Linked DNA regions of Homo sapiens: region 1 is linked to region 2. Evidence: promoter capture Hi-C in human tissues and cell types (Jung and others, 2019). All regions are on one chromosome and are shown on one strand. The core of a region is centred on a gene start or on the middle of the fragment in contact, and the rest is flanking DNA. Distances in the headings are between cores, read along the strand shown. Region 1 overlaps SLC26A8 (solute carrier family 26 member 8). Region 2 holds the start of STK38 (serine/threonine kinase 38).

Region 1 (6,429 bases), core at 644-3,143, 560 kb after region 2:
CCTGTAATCCCAGCTACTCAGGAGACTGAGGCAGGAGAATGGCATGAATCCAGGAGGCAGAGCTTGCAGTGAGCCGAGATAGTGCCACTGCACTGCAGCTTGGGTGAAAGAGCGAGACTCCGTCTCAAAAAAAAAAAAAAAAAAAAAAAAAAAAGAAAAGAAAACAAACAAACAAACAAAAAAAAAACAGAACAAAACTCAAGAAAGCAAAATGCAAGCTTATTCAGCAAACACAATCTCAACAACAGCAATTAGCTGAGGATAGAGTCAAGACCAGTCCTTCCTAAGAAATACAGATATACCAGCCAAATCTCCTAATGATGCCTATCTTGTAGTCCTAGTTTATACAGATCACTGGGCACCCTGGTTGCGACTCACGTTATGCTCCGATGTTAAGGTCCCTACAGATGACTTTGTTGTCCACAAAACACTTCATTTTGACTGCTGCCAAGATCCTAGAACATACTGCTTCTGCTTCTATCCCATTTTTGGAATCCTGAGTTTATTCTCCATGTTTCAATTCTAATTCTTTTGACTGTTCACCTCTACAAAGTAGAGAGAGATACTAGACACAAAAGGTAACATATTGTAATGTGTGTAATGATTTCCTACAAGAGAGTACTTTTCATCAATAAGGAACAAACCCGGAGATACACACACACATTGTGTGTACAACATGGATGGATTTCAAAAACATTATGTAGCATGAAAGAAAAAAGACACAAAAGGCTACATACTGTATAATTCCATTACATGAATTCCTAGAGCAGGAAAAACTAATCTGTCATGACAAAAAGATTAGTGGCTGCCCATGTGGAAAAATTAAATAGTAAGTGGTAGAAAACTAATTTATCAGGGTGATGGAAATGTTTCATGTGTTAATTAGCTGTTAGTTAGGGTGGCAGTTACCTGGCGTATAAATTCCTCAAAACATATAGAACTGGCCGGGTGCGGTGGCTCACGCTTGTAATCCCAGCACTTTGGGAGGCCGAGGTGGGTGGATCACGAGGTTAGGAGATTGAGACCATCCTGGCCAACATGGTGAAACACCATCTCTACTAAAAATACAAAAACTTAGCCGGGCGAGGTGGCAGGCGCCCATAGTTCCAGCTACTCGGGAGGCTGAGGCAGGAGAATGGTATGAACCTGGGAGGCAGAGCTTGCAGTGAGCCGAGATTGCACCACTGTACTCCAGCCTGGGCAACAGAGCGAGATTCCGTCTCAAAAAAAAAAAAAAAAACCGTATAGAACTGTATATCTAAAAGCTGTGCACTTTATTGTATCTAAATTATACCTTAATAAAAATAAATATATATAACAAAGAAATTGAGGCAAATGAGATGTTAAATGTTTTTTCTAATCTGTGTCATTAGTAAGTAGCAGAGCTAGGGCTCACTGTCTAATAATAATATTTCTTGTTTCTTTTCTTTTCTTTTCTTTTTTCTTTGAGGCAGAATCTCGCTCTGTCACCCAGTCTGGAGTGCAGTGGCATGATCTCGGCCCACTGCAACCTCCGCCTCCCAGATTCAAGCGATTCTCCTTCCTCAGCCTCCCGAGTAGCTGGGATTACAGGTGCCCACCACCATGCCCAGCTGATTTTTATATTTTTAGTAGAGATGGGGGTTTCGCCATGTTGGCCAGGCTGGCCTCAAACTCCTGACCTCAAGTGAGCTGCCTGCCTCAGTGTCCCAACGTGCCAGGATTACAGGCATGAGCCAATGCATCTGGCCTCTTGTTTCTTTTCTAAAATCTGCTGATAAAATTTATCTTTTACAGTTATAATTAACATTTTACCATGATAAAGATATTTTCATCAATAAAGCTCAGATTTTCTAAGTCAGCATTTTTCATTTTAAGATTGCTGAATTCGGGGCCGGGCACGGTGGCTCACGCCTATAATCTCAGCACTTTGGGAGGCCGAGGTGGGCCGACCACCTGAGGTCAGGAATTCAAGACCAGCCTGGCCAACATGGTGAAACCTTGTCTCTACTAAAAATACAAAAATTAGCCGGGCATGGTGGCGTGTGCCTGTAATCCCAGCTACTCCAGAGGCTAAGGCAGGAGAATCACTTAACCCGGGAGGCGGAGGTCGCAGTGAGCCAAGATCATGCCACTGCCCTCCAGCCTGGACGACAGAGCAAGACTCCATGTAAAAAAAAAAAAAAAAAAAGAAAGAAAGGTTGCTGAATTTTTGGGTGTCAATGAGAATTATTTCTTTTTTAAGTGGTGGTCTGTGGCAAAGATGCTTAAAGTTAACCAAATAATCATGTGTCCCCTGCACCTCCCAGTCTCTCTTGCAATTAGGAGGACCCTGTGACTTTTGAGCCAAAGTAGAGGTGAATAGGTGCAAGTTCCCTCTTCTTTCCTCCCCTGCTGTGATGATGACAGGGGCAGTATGTTAAGAAAATGGAGACTGGGAGCGGTGGCTCACGCCTGTAATCCCAGCACTTTGGGAGGCCGAGACAGGTGGATCACGAGGTCAGGAGATTGAGACCATCCTGGCTAAATGGTGAAACCCTGTTTCTACTAAAAAGACAAAAAAATTAGCTGGGCATGGTGTTGTGCACCTGTAGTCCCAGCTACTCGGGAGGCTGAGGCAGGAGAATGGCATGAACCCGAGAGGCGGAGCTTGCAGTGAGCTGAGATCATGCCACTGCACTCCAGCCTGGGAGACAGCAAGACTCTGTCTCAAAAAAAAGAAAAGGAAATGGAATCCCTAGGTGAAATTAGCTCAAATCCCTGGGGCACTGCTTGCAAAGAAGCTGCCTGAGAGATACCAACCCACCATGGACTTTGTGTGGGCAAAAAAATAACTTCGATGTGTTAAAATGCTACAATCTCATGGCTTGTACATTGCCACAGCATAACCCACTTATACTAACTAATCCAGGTCTATCCTCTTCAAGGTTGAAAAATACTGCCTTGGGACTTTAGACTAAACTTTCTTATAACTGTTACCTAGTTCTTGTAGAGGTGCATATTCTTTTCCCTTTGAATGTTTGAAAAGCTATTAATTCATAAAGCCCAGAAGCTGAAAGGCTTGTTTTTCAAAAGATTTTACAAAACCCTGAAGGCAGATCCAGCAATCCCACTATTGGGTATATATCTAAAGGAAATGAAATCAATATGTTGAGTAGATACCTGCACTCTCATGTTCGCTGCAGCACTATTTAAAAGACCTAAGATACGGAATCAACCCAAGTGTTCATCAACAGATAAATGGATACATGTGGTATATACAGGTATTAGTTGACAGACATGTAACAAAAAATGATTTTTAAAAAAATGTGGTATACATATACAATGGAATACTATTCAGCCTTAAAAAAAAAGGAAATCCTTCTCCTTAAAGCCTGGGTATTTTGTTTAAAAAAATTAAAATAAAATAAAAAATAAAAAGAAGGAAATCTTGTCATTTGGGACAACATGGATGAACCCAGAGGACATGTTAAGTGAAATAAGCCAGGCACAGAAAGAAAAGTACTGCATGATCTCATTGATATGTGGAATCTAAAAAGGTTGAACTCATTGAAGTGAAGAGTAGAATGGTGGTTACCAGGGTCTAGAGTTGCGGGAGAGTGGTTTGGGGAGATGTTGGCCAAAGGATACAAAATTTCAATTTGATAAGAGGAATAATTTCAAGAGATCTTTTGTACAATATAGTAACTACAGTTAGTAACAATGTATCATATTCTTGAAAATTGCCAAGAGATTAGATTTTAAGTGTTTTCACCACACCAAAAAAGATATGTAGGCATGGTAGCTCACACCTGTAATTTCAGCACTTTGGGAGGCCGAGGCGCGTGGATCACCTGAGGTCAGGAGTTCGATACCAGCCTGGCCAACAGGGAGAAACTCTGTTTCTACTAAAAACACAAAATTAGCTGGGCATCATGGCACATGCCTGTAATCCCAGCTACATGGGAGACTGAGGCAGGAGAATTGCTTGAACCCAGGAGGTGAAGGTTGCAGTGAGCCGGGATTGTGCCATTGCACTCCAGCCTGGGCAACAAGAGCAAAACTCCGTCTCAAAAAAAAAAAAAAAAAAAAAAAAAAAGATGTATATGTGAAGTAATGCATCTATTAATAGCTCGATTCAGCCATGCCACAATGTGTATATATATATATTTTAAAACAACATGTTGTATATGACAAATATATATGATTTTTATTTGTTAATTCTTAAAAACAAAACCCTGGATACAAATGGTGCTCTAGAGCTCGGGAAACAATGTGTATATGGAGTTTGTAGGGTGCAGTCAGAGACAGCCTCTCCTTTCCCAGCCCATCTCTGGCACCTTAGGAGGCTGCAGCTTTGTAGTCACCAGCAGACAGCAGCCATGAACAGACAGCAGCCCTCTTTTTTTTTTTTTTTTTTTTTTTTTTTTTGAGACGGAGTCTTGCTCTGTCTCCTAGGCTGGAGTGCAGTGGCGCAATCTCAGCTCACTGCAGCCTCTGCCTCCCAGGTTCAAACGATTCTCCTGCCTCAGCCTCCCGAGTAGCTGGGATTACAGGTACACACCACCATGCCTGGCTAATTTTTTTATTTTTAGTAGAGATGGGGTTTCACCATGTTGGCCAGGATGGTCTCGATCTCCTGACTTCGTGATCTGCCCACCTTGGCCTCCCAAAGTGCTGGGATTACAGGCATGAGCCACCATGCCCAGCCCTCTCTTAAGAGACATCAGCACCAAGGATCATAGTGATGTTCCTTCAAGCAGTCTGTAAACCCAGATGTATCTGACACAGGTCTCAATCAATTTAGAAAGTTTATTTTGCCAAGGTTAAGGAAGCCCCCATGACATAGCCTCTGGAGGGAGGTCCTACCAACATGTTCAGGGTACAGCTTGCTTTTATACATTAGGGAGACACAATATATCAATCAATACCTGTAAGATTTACACTGGCTTGATCTGGAAGGGTGGGACAAATTGAAGGGGTGGGGGCTTCCATATCATAGGCAGATTTAAAATTTTTCTGATTGGTAATTGATTGAAAGAGTTATTATCAATAGAGACGAATGTCTGGGTTACGGTAAGGGGTTGTGGAGACCTAAGCTGTGTCATGCAAATGAAGCCTCCAAGTAGCAGGCTTCAAAGAGAATGGGTTGTAAATGTTTCTTGTCAGACTTAAGGGTCTGTTTTGAGGTTAATGCTGGTTGGCTTTTCCTGAATTCCAAAAGGGTGGAGGGATATAATGACGTATGTCTGACCCCTGCTTCAATCATGGCCTGAACTAGTTTTTTCAGGTTAACTTCGGAATTCCCTTGGCCAAGAGATGGGATCCATTCAGATGACTGGGGGCCTTAGAATATTGTTTTTGGTTTACACAGCCTTGAAAGCAATCAACATGAACCAGAGTTATAAGGAAAGGAGAGAAGTGAGAGTGCAAAGAATGCTGTGGTTTGACCATGGCTGACAGATTGGTTTGTGAGCCACAGTCAAGATATTCCTCTGGGGGCCAAGCTCGGTGTCTCACCCTTGTAATCCCAGCACTTTGGGAGGCAGAGGCAGGTGGATTGCTCGAGGTCAGGAGTTTGAGACCAGCCTAGCCAACATGATGAAACCCCATCTCTACTAAAAATAAAAAAAATTAGCTGGGCATAGTGGTGCACGCCTGTAGTCCTAGCTACTCAGGAGGTGGAGGCAGGAGAATTGCTTGAACCCAGGAGGTAGAGGTTGCAGTGAGCCAAGATTGTGCCACTGCACTCCAGCCTGGTTAGCAGAGCAAAGACTCTGTCTCAAAAAAAAAAAAAAAAAAAATAAGAAGAAGAAGAAAGAAAGAAAAGAAGAATATATTCCTTTGGAGAATGCTATAAATAATTACAATGCTTCATGAGGTGAGGTGAGGTAGGGGAGGAAACAGAGGTCCAGCAATAAAATAGGTGAAGGCTTACAATAATTGCAATTTAGGCATTAACCTTTTTTGTGACATAATTTGTGCTCACAGGCTATTGAAGCCTGCAACACACTACCTATACACATGTCATGTCAAGTGATGGGGACACAGTTTCTGCCACATAGCAGGGATTAGAGATGCAGGGTAGAACTAGAAAAAGACCTCCCTGTTTCCCTTAGCAGTGAGGAAAATGAGAGAGGGAGGATGGAGGCGCCCACGGTCTAGGGTCTAAAATGCCTTTTACAGCACCCACAAAGAAATTACTAATGTTTAGATGTGCTGGAGGAAACTGCACACATCTATCAATCTGTACTTAAGAGAGCAGACTCGGCCAGGCACAGTGGCTCACGCCTGTAATCCCAGCACTTTGGGAGGCCGAGGTAGGAGGATCACCTGAGGTCAGGAATTCAAGAACAGCCGGGCCAACTTGGCAAAACCCCATCTCTACTAAAAAAATACAAAAAATTAGCCAGATGTGGTGGCACACGCCTGTAATCCCAGCTACTTAGGAAGCTGAGGCATGAGAATCGC
Region 2 (6,072 bases), core at 3,292-5,791:
CAGTGGCTCATGCCTGTAATCCCAGCACTTTCAGAGGCCAAGGTGGGAGGATTACTTGAATCCAGGAGCCTAGCATGGGCATCATAGGGAGACCCCATCTCTTCAAAAAATTTAAAAATTAGCCAGGTGCGGCAGTGCATGTCTGTAGACCAGCTACTTGGAAAGCTGAGGCAGGAGGATCACTTGAGCCTGGGAGGTTGAGCCTGCAGTGAGCCATGACTGTGTCACTGCACTCCAGCCTGGGCAACCCAGTGAGACTCTTTTAAAATACACACACACGGCCGGGCACGGTGGCTCACGCCTGTAATCCCAGCACTTTGGGAGGCTGAGGCGGGTGGATCATTTGAGGTCAGGAGTTTGAAACCAGCCTGGCCAATATGGCGAAATCCCCTCTCTACTAAAACTGCAAAAATTAGCCAAGCATAGTGGTGCACGCCTGTAATCCCAGCTACTCGGGAGGCTGAGGTAGGAGAATCTCTTGAAGCCGGGAGGTGGAGGTTGCAGTGACCCAAGATCACATCAGTGCACTCCAGCCTGGGTGACAGAGCGAGATTCCGTCTCAAAAACAAAACAAAACAAAACAAAACACACACACTCATGCACACTAGTCTCAAGGCCAGGTGCAGTGGCTCACACCTGTAATCCCAGCACTTTGGGAAGCTGAGGCAGGCAGATTGCTTGAGCTCAGGAGGTCAAGGCTGCAGTGAGCTGTTATCGCACCACTGCACTATAGCCTAGGTGACAGAGCGAGACCCTGTCTCAGAAAGAAAAAAAAAAAGATAGTCTGGAGGAATACCCACCAAAATATTACTTGGTGGTTATGTTACCAGGGTGGGACCAGGCTAAGGCAAGCAAGGTTCCTAGGACACTCAATGTAAGGCTGCCTTCACTCTCAGGGTTCTGCAAATGCAGGAGTAGAACCTGAAAGTGAGTGTCTTCTTAAATGTTATGCCCTCACATGCTTCACCCTAGTCTTGGCCTTGGTTGGGACCTACGGCTGCTGGATTATGGGCACTTTCTCCTTCTTACTTTTTACTTGGATATATGTTCAAGTTCCTTGCTACTCTAAGTGTAGTACATGGACCAGCAGTGATAGCATCATCTGGGGGCTTGTTTGAAATGCAGTATCTCAGCTCTGCCCCAGACTTTAGCCAGATCTGCTCTTTAACCAAATCCCAGGAGATTTATGTGCATGTTACAGTTTGAGAAGCACTGGGCTAGCAGGCACCCAAGCATAGTTCCTGTCTTCTTATGAAAGGAATATTCAGAGGCAATTGATGCCACTGCCCCAATAGGTGGGGCACACACTGCTAAGGGGTAAGATGCCTGTTTTTAAAAAGAGTTGTGGTTCTTTCCAAGTGGCTCAGTTTTGGCTGGTGAAGCAATCATAGGTCAGCTTGATAAAGGAGAGGCAGGTGATTCCCTTGGAACAAAGAACGGGTGAGTTGAGCAAGTGAGCAAGACACTCACCTTGGGCACAAAAAACTCAGTAATCAAGATAAAGACCATTTTAATGCAAGGTTTTTCAAAAATCAAAATTAATGCAAAAAATCCACGATGAATAAAACATCGAAATTTAAAATAAAGCTCGACTCACTGTGTAAGGTGGTTCATGCCTGTAATCCCAGCACATTGGGAGGCTGAGGTAGGAGGATCACCTGAGAACAGGAGTTTGAGACCAGCCTGGGCAACATAGTGAGGCCTGACTCTACAAAAAACTAGCCGATCAAGGTCGTACGCACCTTTGTTCCCAGCTACTCACAAGGCTGAGGTAGGAGGATTGCTTGAGCCCAGGAGTTCGAGGCTGCAGTGAGCTATGATTGTGCCGCTGCTCTCCAGCCTGGGTGACCCCAGCCTGGGTGACCCCGTCTCAAAAAACAAACAAACAAACAAACAAACACGGGGATGTGACAACATCAAAATTATGCAGGTCAGATCTTTCTAATTTCCAACTCACAGTCTGGGATGGGTATAAGTGATTTCAGTTTTGGTGATAGGAAAGGGATTCAGATGCTCAAGTGGCCAAAAAGAATGACAAACGTCCATTATAGTTATTGGAATCTTGGTAAAATGTCACCTTTTGGGTTCCTGCAGAAAGAGCAGCATAATTTGGCTGGGCTGTTTTGAGGAAAACTTTAGTGCTTATTTGAGTTGTGGTACAGATAAATTAATATAGGAGGAAAGGGCCGGGTGCGGTGGCTCACGCCTGTAATCCCAGCACTTTGGGAGGCGGAGGTGGGCAGATCACGAGGTCAAGAGATAGACAGCATCCTGGCCAACATGGTGAAACCCCATCTCTAGTAAAAATACAAAAAAAAAAGGCCGGGCGCGGTGGCTCACGCCGGTAATCCCAGCACTTTGGGAGGCCGAGGCGGGCAGATCACAAAGTCAGGAGATCGAGACCATCCTGGCTAACATGGTGAAACCCCGTCTCTACTAAAAATACAAAAAATTAGCCGGGCTTGGTGGCGGGCGCCTGTAGTCCCAGCTACTCGGGAGGCTGAGGCAGGAGAATGGTGTGAACCCGGGAGGCGGAGCGTGCAGTGAGCAGAGATCGCGCCACTGCACTTCAGCCTGGGCAACAGAGCAAGACTCCGTCTCAAAAAAAAAAAAGAAGAAGGAGAAGGAGAAGGAGAAGGAGAAGAAGAAGAAGAAGAAGAAGAAGAAGAAGAAGAAGAAGAAGAAGAAGAGGAAGAAGAAGAAGAAGAAAAGATTAGCTGGGCATGGTGGCACGTGCCTGTAGTCCTGTAGTCCCAGCTACTAAGGAGGCTGAGGCAGGAGAATCACTTGAGCCTGGGAGGTGGAGGTTGCAGTGAGCCGAGATCGTGCCACTACACTCCAGCCTAGTGATAGAGCGACACTCCGTCTCAAAACAAAACAAAAACAACCCCCCTCCCCCCACCAAAAAAAACATATATATAAGAGAGAAGAGAGAGTGAAATTCCTCTTCTGAAACTGGGAAAGTTCCAGGAGGAAGATAAGGTTTGAGCTGGGCTTTGGAAGGAGGAAAGAGAAGAGGAGAAAGAACATTGGATTTGCAGACAGAAAATGGGGTTCCCCTCTTGGCTACTTGGCTTACTAGCCGTGGGAATTCAGACAAGTCACTTAGCTTCTCTAAGTATCAATTACTTCATCTGCAAAACCTCGTGTGTCACTGCCAAAGTGAGGACCAAGTGAGATTAAATAAGTGAAAGTTGTTTGTAAACTGTAAAGCATTATGCAGACATCTTGGACTATTATTAAAAGCTTAAGAATGGGTAGGACTTTGACAACAGGCATTTGGGGAGAAGGGCCTCTGGGCAGAGAGAATGAAAGGCGAAGTGATTGATTGATATGTATGTAGTGACTGATTGAGACAGGGTCTCCCTCCGTTGCCCAGGCTGGGGTGCAGTGTCATGATCATGGCTCATAGCAGCCCTGAACTCCTGGACTCAATCAATCCTCCTGCTTCAGCCTCCACAGTAGGTGGGACCACAGGCACTTGCCACCATGCTGGCCAATTACAAAAATTTTTTTAGAGGTGGATTCTCCTTATGTTGCCCAGACTGGTCTCAAACTCCTAGGCTCAAGCTATCCTCCCACCTGGACCTCCCAAAGTGCTGGAATTACAGGCAGGAGCCACCGCGCCTGGCGAGAAGTGATTTTTGTTAAGAGGCTAGACAAAAGGAAACTGGGCTTTGAAGATGAAATGAATGAATAACTCGCAGCACATGCTTCCTTCTCTCCCTAGATGGCCCCTTTGCAGGCAGTCAGGGACCATGTCTCGTTCATCTTAGTTTCCAGGAGCTTGACACTTTGTAGTTGAGGGCTTTGTGCTCCATTCTCAAGAAACGACAAGTGCCCAAAGGCTATTAAACTTGGGACCTCTTTACCCCCAAAAGTAGTACAGAATAAGAGTTGGGTGGCCTTGAAAAGCACCTTCTTCTGTCCACACTGGGTCGCCCGCTGGGTAACCTCCCAAACCTATGAGAGCTCACCTTATCCCAGGTAAGGTCCTTACTTTAAGGAAGAGGAGGGGGGCCAAGGGCTCCAGCAGACCTGTTCTACACGGGGTAGGGGGGTGGGTGGGAACTATACAGGTGACAACATTTCATAGAACTACACACACACTCACACACACGCACATGACTGCATACCCAACAGGTTAAATCCGAGTGTGGTCTGTAATGAAGTTAATTGTATTGGTTTAGTTAATTGTATTGGTTTAGTTAATTGTATTGTGCGAATGTCAATTTCCTGGCTTTGAGAATGTTGTATCTTAAGAAAAATGTTGAGGTAAGCTGGGTGGGTGATGGTATAGGGAACCTGTATGTATTAATTTTGCAACTTCTTGTGAGTCCATAATTATTTCGAAGTAAAAAGTAAAACAAAAGAAAACAATGGAACTTCCCCCTCAGCCCAGCCTACTTCGAGACCGCCTCACACTCACACATCTGGCCTCACCCAGGTCCAGCCAGCCCTAGGCAGGGGGTGAAGGGAGGGGCAGGGCGGGGCCACGCAAGCGCAGTTCCGCAATCCCGGCCGCTCCGGGAAGTCGCGCATGCGTAGTCTCGGCCCCGGGCTGCCGCGCCAGCCCGTCTCCGCGGCGGGGGACCGGGCTGCCTTGGCCCCTCAGCGCTCGCGTCTTTTCCGGCAGTTGGAACGCTTCCTGTTGTCCTCACCCGTAACCGCCTGTTGCCCCCTGTCTCAGAGTCCCTCACGCGTCCCCTCCCGTCTTTGGCTCGTTGGCTGCCGCCGCCGGGGCTTCGCCAGCCTTCAAGTCGAGACTACTGGCCGAAGGGGCGTCTGCGGCTCTCCGCCGTCCCCAGCCCTGCCTCTCCCTGGGCTCTGGTGAGTTGCTTGCTGCCGCCGTCTTCACTCCATCCCGGGGTTTTTCCTTTATCTCCTCCTTCCCCAACCTCCGACTCCTTCTTGGGCTTTCTCCTGCTCGCCGGCGCCCTCTTTCAAGCCCTAACCTCTCAGCCTCTTGGCCTCTCTCCGCCCCTCTCCTTAACCCCCTTCTTCCCCCGTCTCCAGATGCCCCTTGTTGGCCCTCTCCACATTTTTCCAGTCCCAGCCTTTCCACCCCATCCTTTATCTTTCTCCTTTTGCAGTTGGAGCGGGAGCCAGGCTTTCCTTTCCATGTTGCCACCTTTGTCTGCTCCCTGCCACCAGTCAGTCCCTCAGGGATCTCGGTCATCACCGGTTTTTATCTCCTTTTCCTTCTTCTGGGGTCTGTGAACTGTGGTCTGAGGCAGAGATGTCGAAAGCCCCCCTTGGGGTGTGGTATCTTTGAGTCGGCTCCTTTCTCCGTTAGTCTTAGGATACTGGGCTTCAGATAAGCTTCAAATCACAGGAAAAGGCAGGGAAAATTCTTAAGAAGAGAGTGGAAAAGCAACAGCCAGAGGAAAAAGTCGGTAAGGGCTTAGAGGAAAGTCTGTGTCAGAAAGCGGGCAGAACGGCCGGCAGAGAGACCAGATCTCTCAGTTCATTCTGAAACGACTAAAAGACTCGGAGAGAAACTTGTTCTGTTTGAAATGCACCGAGGAGGGTTGGAGTGAAGTAGACCCTGAGTGTCTCCACCCTTTGAGCTCACCCTGCCTCTGAATTAGCCAGGCAATATATTTGGTTTCCCTAAACATAAAACAACCACCACCTCGATAACAGGCTCTCCTCCCCACCCTAAACGTTAGATACCAGCTTCCTCCTAAGAGGAGAGAACGCTATAGCAAACCATTTCATGTCCCAGCCCTATCCCCCATCACACATAAACTCCTAGGAATGGACATCAAAAATGAGTATATTTCCTAGTTAATCTTTCTTAAGGTGCTAAGTGCATAGCACTGTGCATGAAATGGGGGAAGAATATTAAAACAAGTATAAGACATGGTGCTTGCTTTCTAGTGTAGGTAGAGATTACAGTTTAGTAGGATTTACAGTTCAGTGGGAGAGATTAGACATGCGACTTAAGCAATAATCTTAGCTCCAATGTTGAATCGTCCAAATGAAAGATAATGGATTGTCAGTCGCAAAGAAATAAAGTCCATATTGTTGAGAGAGGGTTGTTTATAGTGATCACAGAGTACCATTGTA

Evidence for each region. The method cuts DNA at HindIII sites, captures the fragments that hold promoters and counts their contacts. A contact is called where the count stands out against the background at its distance.
Region 1: a contact is called between a fragment that was not itself captured here and the fragment with the promoter of STK38 in region 2, in 1 of the 25 tissues and cell types used here (aorta).

The regions. Positions count from the first base shown.
Region 1 is chr6:35,983,653-35,990,081 of GRCh38, reverse strand. The region is part of intron 7 of SLC26A8 (solute carrier family 26 member 8); the gene reads left to right. The region is part of intron 6 of LOC105375035 (a long non-coding RNA gene); the gene reads right to left. It also overlaps the pseudogene DPRXP2. Among named protein-coding and RNA genes, the nearest start is that of SLC26A8, 38 kb to the left of the region's middle. The HindIII fragment of the contact is 6,825 bases long and covers 1-5,305 here.
Region 2 is chr6:36,545,948-36,552,019 of GRCh38, reverse strand. STK38 (serine/threonine kinase 38) reads left to right here and starts at 4,541. Exons shown (of 14, transcript NM_007271.4): 1 at 4,541-4,830. RefSeq lists silencers at 1,082-1,282, 4,396-4,735 and an enhancer at 4,483-5,006. The HindIII fragment of the contact is 5,084 bases long and covers 1,401-6,072 here.